Regions from separate parts of the Homo sapiens genome. Here region 1 is linked to region 2. The links are contacts of gene promoters, found by promoter capture Hi-C in blood cells and fetal thymus (Javierre and others, 2016). All regions are on one chromosome and are shown on one strand. The core of a region is centred on a gene start or on the middle of the fragment in contact, and the rest is flanking DNA. Distances in the headings are between cores, read along the strand shown. Region 1 overlaps LOC124903524 (a long non-coding RNA gene). Region 2 holds the start of ARID3B (AT-rich interaction domain 3B).

Region 1 (5,273 bases), core at 1-2,500, 170 kb before region 2:
TTCTCAGAGTAGAGGGTGTACACATTTAGACCCATCTAAACGTTGCCTAGGACGGGGAACATGATTTTATTCATTGCAGGCAGCTTGGATGGATAAACAGAAAATCCAAATCACAGACTTAAAGAAGATAGAAGTGTATTCTCTCTCCCATAAAGGATGTCCAAGGCTGGGCAGTCCAGGGTGAGTGTGTCAGTCCCAGCAAAATGCCAGGCTCCATCTTCCTGCTTCACCACGAAGACATTTGGTTGGCATTTCTAAGGCCACCCGATGGTCCAAGCTGCTGCTGGAGCATTAACCGTGTTGCTGGCCAGAAGGCGGAAGAACTCAAGAAGACCAAAAGGGGCCCTCCCTGAAGAGCCAGCTTCATTTAAGCCCCTTCCTCAAAGTCCCACACGAGTCCAACCATATCTGATTGGTGGGAACTTAACCACATTGAGGCAGGAGAATAGGGAATTAGGGCAACCAAGGATTAAGGTAGGAACAAAAGAAGAGCAGGTGCAGCCAGTTCACATAAGCAAAAGGCACAGCAGGTACAGCCAATTCTAGGCAGGATTAGGCAACATACAGGCCACATCTTCACTTCTGTGATAACCACAGGCCAAGTCGCCACTTAAGCCTCTAATTGGTCACGGATCAATCCTTCATTGGATGTAACTGATTGGAGGCCTCTGGAGGGCACCGGGGGTGTTCATGTTCTTTAGCTTAATAAAATCTCTAATTGAAGGGGCTCCTGAGCCACTTGCTCAAGCCCACTCTTGCTCTGTGAATTGTACTTGCACATCTTCAATAAATCTGTGCCTTCATTACTCCATTCTTTCGTTGCTTTGTCTTTTGTTGCTTTGTGCGTTTTGTTCAATTCTTTAACATGCCAAGAACCTGGACAACTCAGTCAAGACCTTCCATTCAGTAACCACATGACTGTACCTAGGTACAGGGAGGTAGGTACAGGGAGGCTGGACAATGTCGTTTTGCTCTGGATGGCAATACATCCGCTAGCAGAGGTGCTGGCCAGACCATAGACATAATAATACAGTTTTGTATCATGAAACAAGCAACGGTTTTGGAGCCACATGGACTCAGGTTCAAATCCTAGTTCAACCACTGAGTGGTCGCGTGGCATAGGGCAAGACACTTGAGCTACTTGAGACTTAATTTTTTCATATTTAAAATGGAGATAATCAGACCTGCCTCTCAGAGCTGTTGCAAGATAAAAAAAAGCACTTAAAAGATTCAGAGGTTCTCAAAGTAGCCCACCTAATATCATTGCCTTAAACATCACCCTCTTGCTCAGCTTAGGGTATGGACACCATACATGAAAATTAGGTGATTCTTTCCCTGTTTGTTTTCACATGCACAGCTCAGGGTATTTCACTAAGTCAGATGGTCCCCCCGACTCCACCCTATTTCTTTCTCTGAGGGCATTTCATCTGTTTCGGTGTCACCCCACTCTAACAGTTTAAAGGGAGGAGGGAGAGGCAAGGACCTAAGATGTTTGGAGAGAAATCAGCCCTAGAGATGGGACTCAAGGTTATGGCATTTCTCAGCTTAAGTATCAGATGTGGCTGTTAAAACTATTATTAAATAGATTCCTTTTGCTGTTTGGGGTTTTTCCTGTTTGTTTGTTTGTTTGGCCTTGGGAGGGGTCATGTGGCCATATGGTAAAGAGACATTCCCAAGGAAGGAATGAAACACATTGTTCCTGCCCGGGCCAGGGCTTATGTAGTCAGGGATTATGAAGACTGAATGTTCTGTGTCCTGGAGGAAAGGGGTCCCTGCTTTGGGGACTGTTTCTTTTTATGGATCCTGGGCTATTCCTTCTGTCCAACAAGAGTGAAATGAAGGGAAATACGGGACAGAGTTGACATAGCTTTAGGGGCAGGAGTAATTGGGGTAAAGGAGGGGAGAAGACTGGACCCAGAAGTCAAAGGCCCAGAGCCCCCGGCAAAGGAGTGTTGCCAGGTTGGGAGCCTCTGCAAAGGGCATCTCTGAGGGCTGTTCCTAGGGGCCCACCCATTGCAGCCCTCCTATGAGAACTTAACTCCACATGGTGAACTGGAACCTGAGCCCTAATCTTAGCTACCCAGGGCAGCCTCTCCCTGCTCCTCTAAATCCTCATCACTCCTGTAAGTCCAGAGGAACCCCCACACCCCAACTTGAAGGGTGAATGAGTACCCAGGCACTCCCTGCCTGGGTGCACACTGTGGCTCCTTGTCCCCCTCTATACATTGCCCAGGCTGGCTTTGAACTCCTGGGCTCAAGCAATTCTCCTGGCTCGGCCTCCTGAGTAGCTGGGAATACAGGCGCGTGCCACCGCGTTCAGCTTCATTTTTATTTTTACAGCTTCACTTCACTTCCTCAGTGCAAACATGTTAAAATATTAAAAATTTGCTGTAAAGTTTTTGAAAGGATATTTATAATTTTGCTCTTGAAACCATTTGGCTAGGAGTGACTGATTTAAATTACAATTGGGAATTCTTGTGAAATGAGAAAAACCTAGCCCACACATTCTTTCAGATGTAATGAAATTTTTATGAATACTAAATTTAACAGTTAATGAGGTTGATATAATGTTACAGTTGGACACTTGATTAAGAATTTATTGATTTCCATTTTGCAGTGTTCTTATTTGAGAGCCAATCATTTTTTCTTCAGCTGTGAAATATTCACATGGGCCCTTGGGAGGCCCCCGCTGCGGGCTTCTCTAGCGGGCAGTACATAAGTAACCAGGCCAACAGCTCTTCCCTGTCCTCCCCCTGACACACCTCGCACCCCTTTACACAGGCACATAAGGAAAAACACCCATCGTGGCTGGACCATGGAGACAGAGTCCAGTTCCAGAGGAGGAAGAGGATGGGGCCAGTCAGACAAGGGCACAGAAGCCATGCCATGCCATGTCATGTAAGCAAGAAGCTTCTTACTGCAACCAGTGGCTGGGGCTGCTAAGGGCACTAAGATTCAAGACCAGTGAGCCACGGAGGTTGGCATGGGCACCTCTTCCCTCCTGGGGACAGTAGGTAGTGGGGGCAGGAGGGGAAGGGCCACCTGCCTGGTTTACATAGTCGGCCACAGAGCGGTGGCCCACACTTATTCGACGACTATAGCCTCAGTGTTCCAGGCAGGTGTGCATGGGGCCAGCGGGCTATGAGAGGCTTCCACGTGGCACAAGGACAGCACCCCACAAGGAGAACATGAAAAAGCTAACACAGTAGCACAGGCAAGTGCACAGTACCCCAGCCTCCCCTCGGAACCAGAGGGCGGAGTGGACTGAGGCCACCCTCAGCCAGGTCTGCGGCAGAAGCTGAGGCAGAGAAATGCCACTTTGTCCTTGCTCCAGTCTCTCTCTCAGCCATTCAGATACCGCTTCCTTCACTCCAGAGCCTCAGCCGGCGCCTCTCAGATCAAACCTTGTGCCACTAGGTGGAGCCAAAGCCCACAGCAACAGCGCCGGGCTCGGACACCCAGCCGCCCGCGTGCAGGAAGGAGGTGGGCTCGCGAGGCAGGGGACTGGGGGCCCCGGGCTGAGTCTGGGCCCTACCGGGGGGCCAGGAAAGGAGTGGGAGAGCCAGCCACAGCCCACAGTGGACTTATTTGGTTTACATGGTCCGTTCCGTCCGAACTCGCACTGTAGGCTAAATGGTCCCAGAGCCAACCCCGGCAGCCGCAAATCCCCGTTTGTCAGATAAGGAGGCTGAGGGCCTGAGGGGAGGATCCAGGAGAGCCAGAACAGGGCTGAAGCCAGAGCCCGCGCCCCTGTCCACAGAGCCTTCCCCTGCACCGCTTCCGGGATGTATCCCCTGCCCGTGGGGAGGGCGCACGAGAAGAAGGTGCGGCTTCCAGAAGGGAGATCCTGGGAACGAGGCCGGGAGACACGCTTGGCTCCGGAGCCTAGGACTGGCTCCGGGGCACGAGCCGCAGTCCCCTCCAGCACCTCCTGGTGGGGGCCGCAGCTGGGATGCTGGCTTCGGGCGCCGGCGGCCGGAGCAGCGGAAAGCATCCACCTACAGAGGCTGCGGTGGAGGGGGCGGGGCGGGCGCGGACCCGGAGGCGCCGCATTGGACGAGGGGGTTGCTGGGGTTCTCGGATTGGCTGGCCATGAGGGGGCGGGACCAAGGCCAGGGCTGAGAGGCGTGAGGACCTGGAGCGTGAACGCGTGGGGAAGGCGCAGAGACCTGGCGCAGGTGTTGCGGAGCCTTCTGAGACTGGCCTAAGCTGCAGAATTGATCGAGCATCTGGAGTGGCCATCGGCCGTGTTGCCCGCAGACACAGGTGTGCTGCGACAGACCAAGCTCCAGGGTCCCTCAGGTAGCCAGGTGTGCGGCACAGCTTTGTCCCTCCCAGAACTCAGTTTCCCCAGCAGGGGGCCCGGGGACTATTCCAATCCAGTACTCTGGCCTGCCCCTCCCCTCGCTCTCACTGACCTCCCAGCAGCCAGACCAGGTAGGTATCCAGGCTCCTTCCTATCCTGCCCCCTGCCCCGCTCCATCCTCATCTTTCCCTTAAAGAAACCTCTCTCCAAGGTCCACGGTTACATCACATACAGCTTTGCACACCCAGTGCCCAGCACAGAACCCCCACCCTCTGTGGTTGTCCTTTCGCTTCTCGCAAGGTCCATGGGAGCAGGGGACCAGGCTGGGACAACATGTGGCCCCACCTGGTTGCTATAAAAGCTCAGGTAAGGAAGTTTACAGAAATATGTTGGGGTTACTGCACCTGTAAAAAGTGAAAATGGCCAATTATCATCAATGTCAAGAAGAAAAATTGCCCTTGTTGCCCTTTCACTGTAGTAAAGTGCTGCTTCCAACAAACCAGCACACAAATGCCAACCACAGGTGCATTCCGCTTGGGAGGATGGGGGAGAAACTAGTTGTTTGACTCTGTACAAGAACCAATCACCAGGTTTCCTTAAATGGCACACTTTCTTTGAAATCTGAAGCAAGAAATTACCTCTCCGGACACAACCAAGTTCATCTCGTGTCCTCTCAGGACATACAGCCGGGCTCCACTAGAGGGCAGCAGAAAGATGGAGATGCTCGAGAGAAAAGGAGACTTAAGTTAGTTCTCACCATCCGTGGAGGGTGTGAGGAACCCAATAAAAACCGTACTGGTATTAGTTCCTATTTGTTGACTGGTTACTCTAGGCCAGCCATCCCTCTGACTGATCTGTTAAAAAAAAAAATTAAGTAATTTGGGCCGGACGTGGTGGCTCATGCCTGTAATCCCAACACTTTGGGAGGCCGAGGTGGGTGGATCACCTGAGGTCAGCAGTTCAAGAC
Region 2 (4,935 bases), core at 2,117-4,616:
CTCTTAGCACTCTCCCCATCACTCACTCTGAATCAACATAGTGATCTCCTTGCTATTCCCATAGCACCTCAAGCAGGCTCCTGCCTCAGGGCATTTGAATTTGCTGTCTCCTCTGCCTGGAACACTCTCCCCCTAGATATCTACATGGCTTACACCCATTAAGTCAAGGCCAGTTTCTGCTTAAGGGCTCCTTATAAATTCTTCTCTGACTAACATCTAAAATAGCAGCTACCTGACACCACTGTCTAATCCCTACCCTGCTTTGTTTTCTTAGCATATATCCCTGACATTACATACTTGTTTTCTCTCCTCGAACTAGTAAAGATCCTTGCGAGCAGGGAATTTGTTTTGTCCATTGCTCAGTAAGCACCTACATGAGTGCCTGGTCTGGCATATAGTGGGAGTTGAATGAATATTTTTGATTGAATAAATAGGAGGTAAGGACAGGATGGGAAGGCAAGTAAGTAGGTTTCTCGATTTCAGGACATTCTACATTTTCTGTTACTTACATGATAAGGAAGTCAGGGGAAGTGGTAAGGGTATAGGTCAGAGATTTGTAGAGATCGTGGAGAGCAAGTTGACTAGAAAAATATAATGAAATTTCTAGTCACAGTTCACAGTCCTTTTTTTTTTTGAGACGGAGTCTTGCTCTGTCACCCCGGCTGGAGTGCAGTGGCGCGATCTCAGCTCAATGCAAACTCCACCTCCCGGGTTCAAGCAATTCTTCTGCCTCAGCCTCCAAAGTAGCTGGGATTACAAGTGCTTGCCACTGCGCTCAGCTAATTTTTGTATTTTTAATAGAGACGGGGTTTCACAATGTTGGCCAGGCTGGTCTCGAACTCCTGACCTCATGATCCACCCACCTCAGCCTCCCAAGTGCTGGGATTACAGGTGTGAGCCGCCGCACCTGACCCACAGTCCATTTAAAGTTGGTCTTTATTAATGTAGTGACGCCAATCTGTTCAGCAGGACACTTTTTCTTTTTTTGAGGTGGAGCTTTGCTCTTGTTGCCCAGGCTGGAGTGCAATGATGCAATCTCAGCTCACTGCAACCTCTCCTCTCAGGTTCAAGCTCTCCTGCCTCAGCCTCTGGAGTAGCAGGGATTACAGGTCTTCACCACCACGCCCGGCTAATTTTTGTATTTTTAGTAGACAGGGTTTCACCATGTTGGTCAGGCTGGTCTCAAACTCCTGACCTCAGGTGATCCACCCGCCTCGGACTCCCAAAGTGCTGGGATTACAGGCATGAGCCATCGTGCTCGGCCTCAACAGGACAATTTTTTTGTTTTTGAGATGAAATCTTGCTCTGTCACCCAGACTGGAGTGCAGTGGCGTGATCTCGGCTAACTGCAACCTCCGCCGTCCAGGTTCAAGCGATTCTTCTGCCTCAGCCTCCCCAGTAGCTGGGACTACAGGCATGCGCCACCACACCCAGCTAATTTTTGTATTTTTAGTAGAGACGGGGTTTCACCATATTGGCCAGGCTGGTTTCTAACTCCTGACCTCGTGATCCGCCCACCTCGGCCTCCCAAAGTGTTGGGATTACAGGCATGAGCCACCACGCCCAGCAACAGGACAACTTTCTATGACAAGGTACAAGCAAGGAGAAACACATAGGTCCATCCAGGGTGAGGGATTTCGTTGGGGAAAAAGGAGTGTTGTGGTGGGATTAAGATTAAGTAGGGGCAGGACTGTATTAATGTACCACTGAATCTAAAATGGATAAGGAAGGAAGTGAAGAGGGGATTAATGTATAAGAGATAAAGTAGAGGCTTTCAACCGATTAGATGCTCTGCTCTGATAAAGTGAAAGAACAGGCCGGGTGCAGTGGCTTACGCCTGTAATCCCAGCACTATGGGAGGCCGAGGCGAGCGGATCACCTGAGTTCAGGACTTCGAGACCAGCCTGGCCAACATGGCGAAACCTGTCTCTACTAAAAATGCAAAAATTAGCTGGCTTGGTGGCGCACACCTGTAATCCTAGCTACTCGAGAGGCTGAGGCAGTAGAATTGCTTGAACCCAGGAGGCGGAGGTTGCAGTGAGCTGAGGTTGCGCCACTGCACTCCAGCCTGGGCGACAGAGCAAGACTCCTTCTAAAAAAAAAAAGTGAAATAACAGTAATAACAGTTATGCTGTAATTCTATTTTTTTTGGGGGGGGGGAACAGTGTCTCTGTCACCCAGGCTGGAGTGCAGTGGCACAATCATGGCTCACTGCAACCTCCGCCTCTCCTGGGCTCAGGTGATCTCCCACCTCAGCCTTCCGAGTAGATGGGACCACAGGCATGCGCCAAAACGCCTCATTAAACTTTGTATTTTTTGTAGAGATGGGGTATCGCCTTGTTGCCCAGGCTGCTCTCCAACTACTGGGCCCAAGAGATTCGCCTGCCTCAGCCTTCCAAAGTGCTGAAATTACAGGCGTGAGCTACTGCATCAGGCCTATAATTCAAAAGTAGTCAAGCTGAGAGAATAGCAGGCTGTGGTTGAAAAGAGGGTTGTTCAAATTACTGAGTCGTGACGCGATAGCGTTTGGAGGGACAAGGTCCAGGTTTTAACTGGGATTGGGAGGCTGATATAAGGGTCGCTAAAGACGAGGCCCGATGTTGAATGGGTTGGCCACATAGGCTCTGAAATTATCAAAGATGGTCAGACGGGAGACAGACAAGGAGCTGGATACACAGATCGGCAGATTATCTCCAAACGGGGTGAAGTAGGTGACAGAGTCTAAGGGGAAGGGCTGAAGAAGCAAGTGTTTTTACAAGAGGTGACAGCACCTGGCACATAATCCCGACCTCTGCAAACTGAGACCTGAGAATACTAATTCATGTGAGAAAGTTTCAAGGGACGCAACATTCTCGGGACAGCCAGGTCTCTGTCCCAGGAAGGAGCGGAGAAGTTTAGAGACAAGCTGATCTAAACACGAGAACCTCTGAGGAAGACCGGCTTGAAGGCAGGAGATTGAGGAGGGGACCGAAGCGACGGCAAACCCTACACTCCTCTGCTCTTTAGTTACTTTCCTCCCAGCCAACCGCCCAAGCCACACCAACCTCCGCAATAGAAAACGCTCGGAGAACACGATCTCCCGCCCAGCTCTTTTCAACTCCCCGCGGAAGTGCTCACACCGGAACCCCTCTGTGTCCGCACTTTGCCATTGGCCGAGGCTTCCGCCCGCTTCCATTCGCTTCCTCCCACAACTCAGTCGGGCTGCGCGGTCCGTAGGAGTCACTTCCGCCTCGTCCCACCCCGCCCCCCGGTCCCTTTCTAGCAGCTTCCGGCTTCGGTCCCGCCCCGCCCCCTGTGGCCCCGCCCCGCCCCCGCCCCCGCCCCTGGCTGGCGGTCCAGCCCCGCGGCGCCGCTTCCGGTGCGGGCCCCGCCCCGGCTGTGGCCCCCGGCTGCGGAGGAGTCCGAGACGCAGCTGCCGCGCCGGGGCCTGAGCTGCCGCCTCCTCCGCCGCCCGAAAACCCGGAGTGCCCCGCACAGGTAAGTGGCCCGGGTCCGGGCTCCCTCAGGCATGGCGGGAGAGGAGGCTGCGACAGGTGGAGGGGCCGAGGCCAGGAGCCGAGGCAGGTGTAGAGAGAGAGGGGAATGCGCGAGTCGGGGGCGCGGGGACCGCGAAGGAAAGTGAGAGCGCCGCGGGAGCCCCGAGCGCCCTGTGCCCATTAGGGCATTTGAGATAAAGCGTTTGAGATAAAGCGATGAGAAGGGTGAGGGGCCCTGGAGCTGAGTGGGCGCGCAGATAGGTGGGGCGGGGGCCATCGGAAGAGCCAGCGGATTGGCTGGGAGGGTTGGTAGAGGTAAAAATGATAGGGCTGAATGGGGGGAGGTGAATAAAGAATGGGGGGAGGCGTGCAGGGGTGACCGGGAAGGTGGGCTGTGGGGCTTACAGGGGCCCGGGGCCAAAAGAATCCGGCAGCAAAAGCAGGGGAATGGTCAGCAGGCCGGGTTCAAAGCTGCAGGTAGTCCGTTGTACCCGGCTTGGTGGTCCGGGAACTTTAGGGGAAATGGGGGAGGGGCCCGTGTGAAGGGATGAAGAGGTTTAGATTTGAGACATAAGTTCTCCAAATGTAGGCAGGTGGCATTGTTTGGATCGCTGGCTGCTTAGGGACTGCGGGAAAATGGGCTCTTTGGGGGAGGGTGTGTGTATTGAGTTGTAGAACTGAGTCATCTCAGTCTTACTATAAGAGGCTGTGGGAGGGACACCTCCCCCTCTGCTGGGGACAGCATTCAGAGAAGATGGTGCCACAAGACAAGAAGCAGTTGTTCAGTGACTGGCAGGACTTGGTTGAGAAGTTATTCCGATCGTGATTGATTGACTGTAATGACTATGAGGACATTTAAAATGAACACCGAATTATTTGCTTTATTCTGTAATTTTCTTTGACCCAAATTGTTTTCATTTTAAATGAACACTTTTGCCAACTGAATTTAATGTGGATGTAAATCTTGTCATGCTTTTTTACACTGTAAGAAGAGCTAAAGCAGAATGAAAGTATTGCTGCAAGCGTAACTCACACTTTCTGAAGTGCCAAGAGAGGAAGTAAAGGCAGTAAGAGGCAAATTGGAATGCGAATCTTTCACAGAACACAAAAGGCACAAACAGGGCTATAAGATAAACAGAAAATGAGAATTTTTAATCTCTACTAATTGGCCTAGCTTTAAAAATTGTACCCTTTTTTACTCTAACCTGGAAAAAATCTTAAATCCAAGCAGTTTTTATTGCTGAAGATGTGATTACTTCTCCGTGAATTTTTGAAGATACTAAAGACACTTTGTTTTTTGTCTTTCGACCCAATCCTAAAACACTGGAACAATGCAGATATCAAGTCCCAACATGTGCAGTGCAGCTTCTTTCATGTGATGACAAAATTGTACGCCATGTTGCAAGTCCTGTTCACCTAAAATTGCCCTTGCATAGTAATCCATTCAGTTATGGAGACT

Evidence for each region. The method cuts DNA at HindIII sites, captures the fragments that hold promoters and counts their contacts. A CHiCAGO score of 5 or more calls a contact.
Region 1: a contact is called between a fragment that was not itself captured here and the fragment with the promoter of ARID3B in region 2, in 11 of 17 cell types (megakaryocytes, erythroblasts, fetal thymus and 8 more). The highest score is 8.9, in megakaryocytes.

The regions. Positions count from the first base shown.
Region 1 is chr15:74,370,402-74,375,674 of GRCh38, forward strand. It overlaps LOC124903524 (a long non-coding RNA gene), which reads left to right. Exons shown (of 2, transcript XR_007064709.1): 2 at 1-811. Among named protein-coding and RNA genes, the nearest start is that of CYP11A1, 5.4 kb to the left of the region's middle. RefSeq lists silencers at 3,425-3,474, 4,075-4,134 and enhancers at 3,735-3,784, 4,266-4,813, 5,141-5,190. The HindIII fragment of the contact is 3,316 bases long and covers 1-2,908 here.
Region 2 is chr15:74,537,854-74,542,788 of GRCh38, forward strand. ARID3B (AT-rich interaction domain 3B) reads left to right here and starts at 3,367. Exons shown (of 9, transcript NM_006465.4): 1 at 3,367-3,477. It overlaps LOC124903528 (a long non-coding RNA gene), which reads right to left and starts at 3,235. Exons shown (of 2, transcript XR_007064719.1): 1 at 3,045-3,235. RefSeq lists enhancers at 2,623-2,752, 2,687-3,228, 2,803-2,952, 4,303-4,362 and silencers at 3,253-3,612, 4,129-4,313. The HindIII fragment of the contact is 12,648 bases long and covers 1-4,935 here.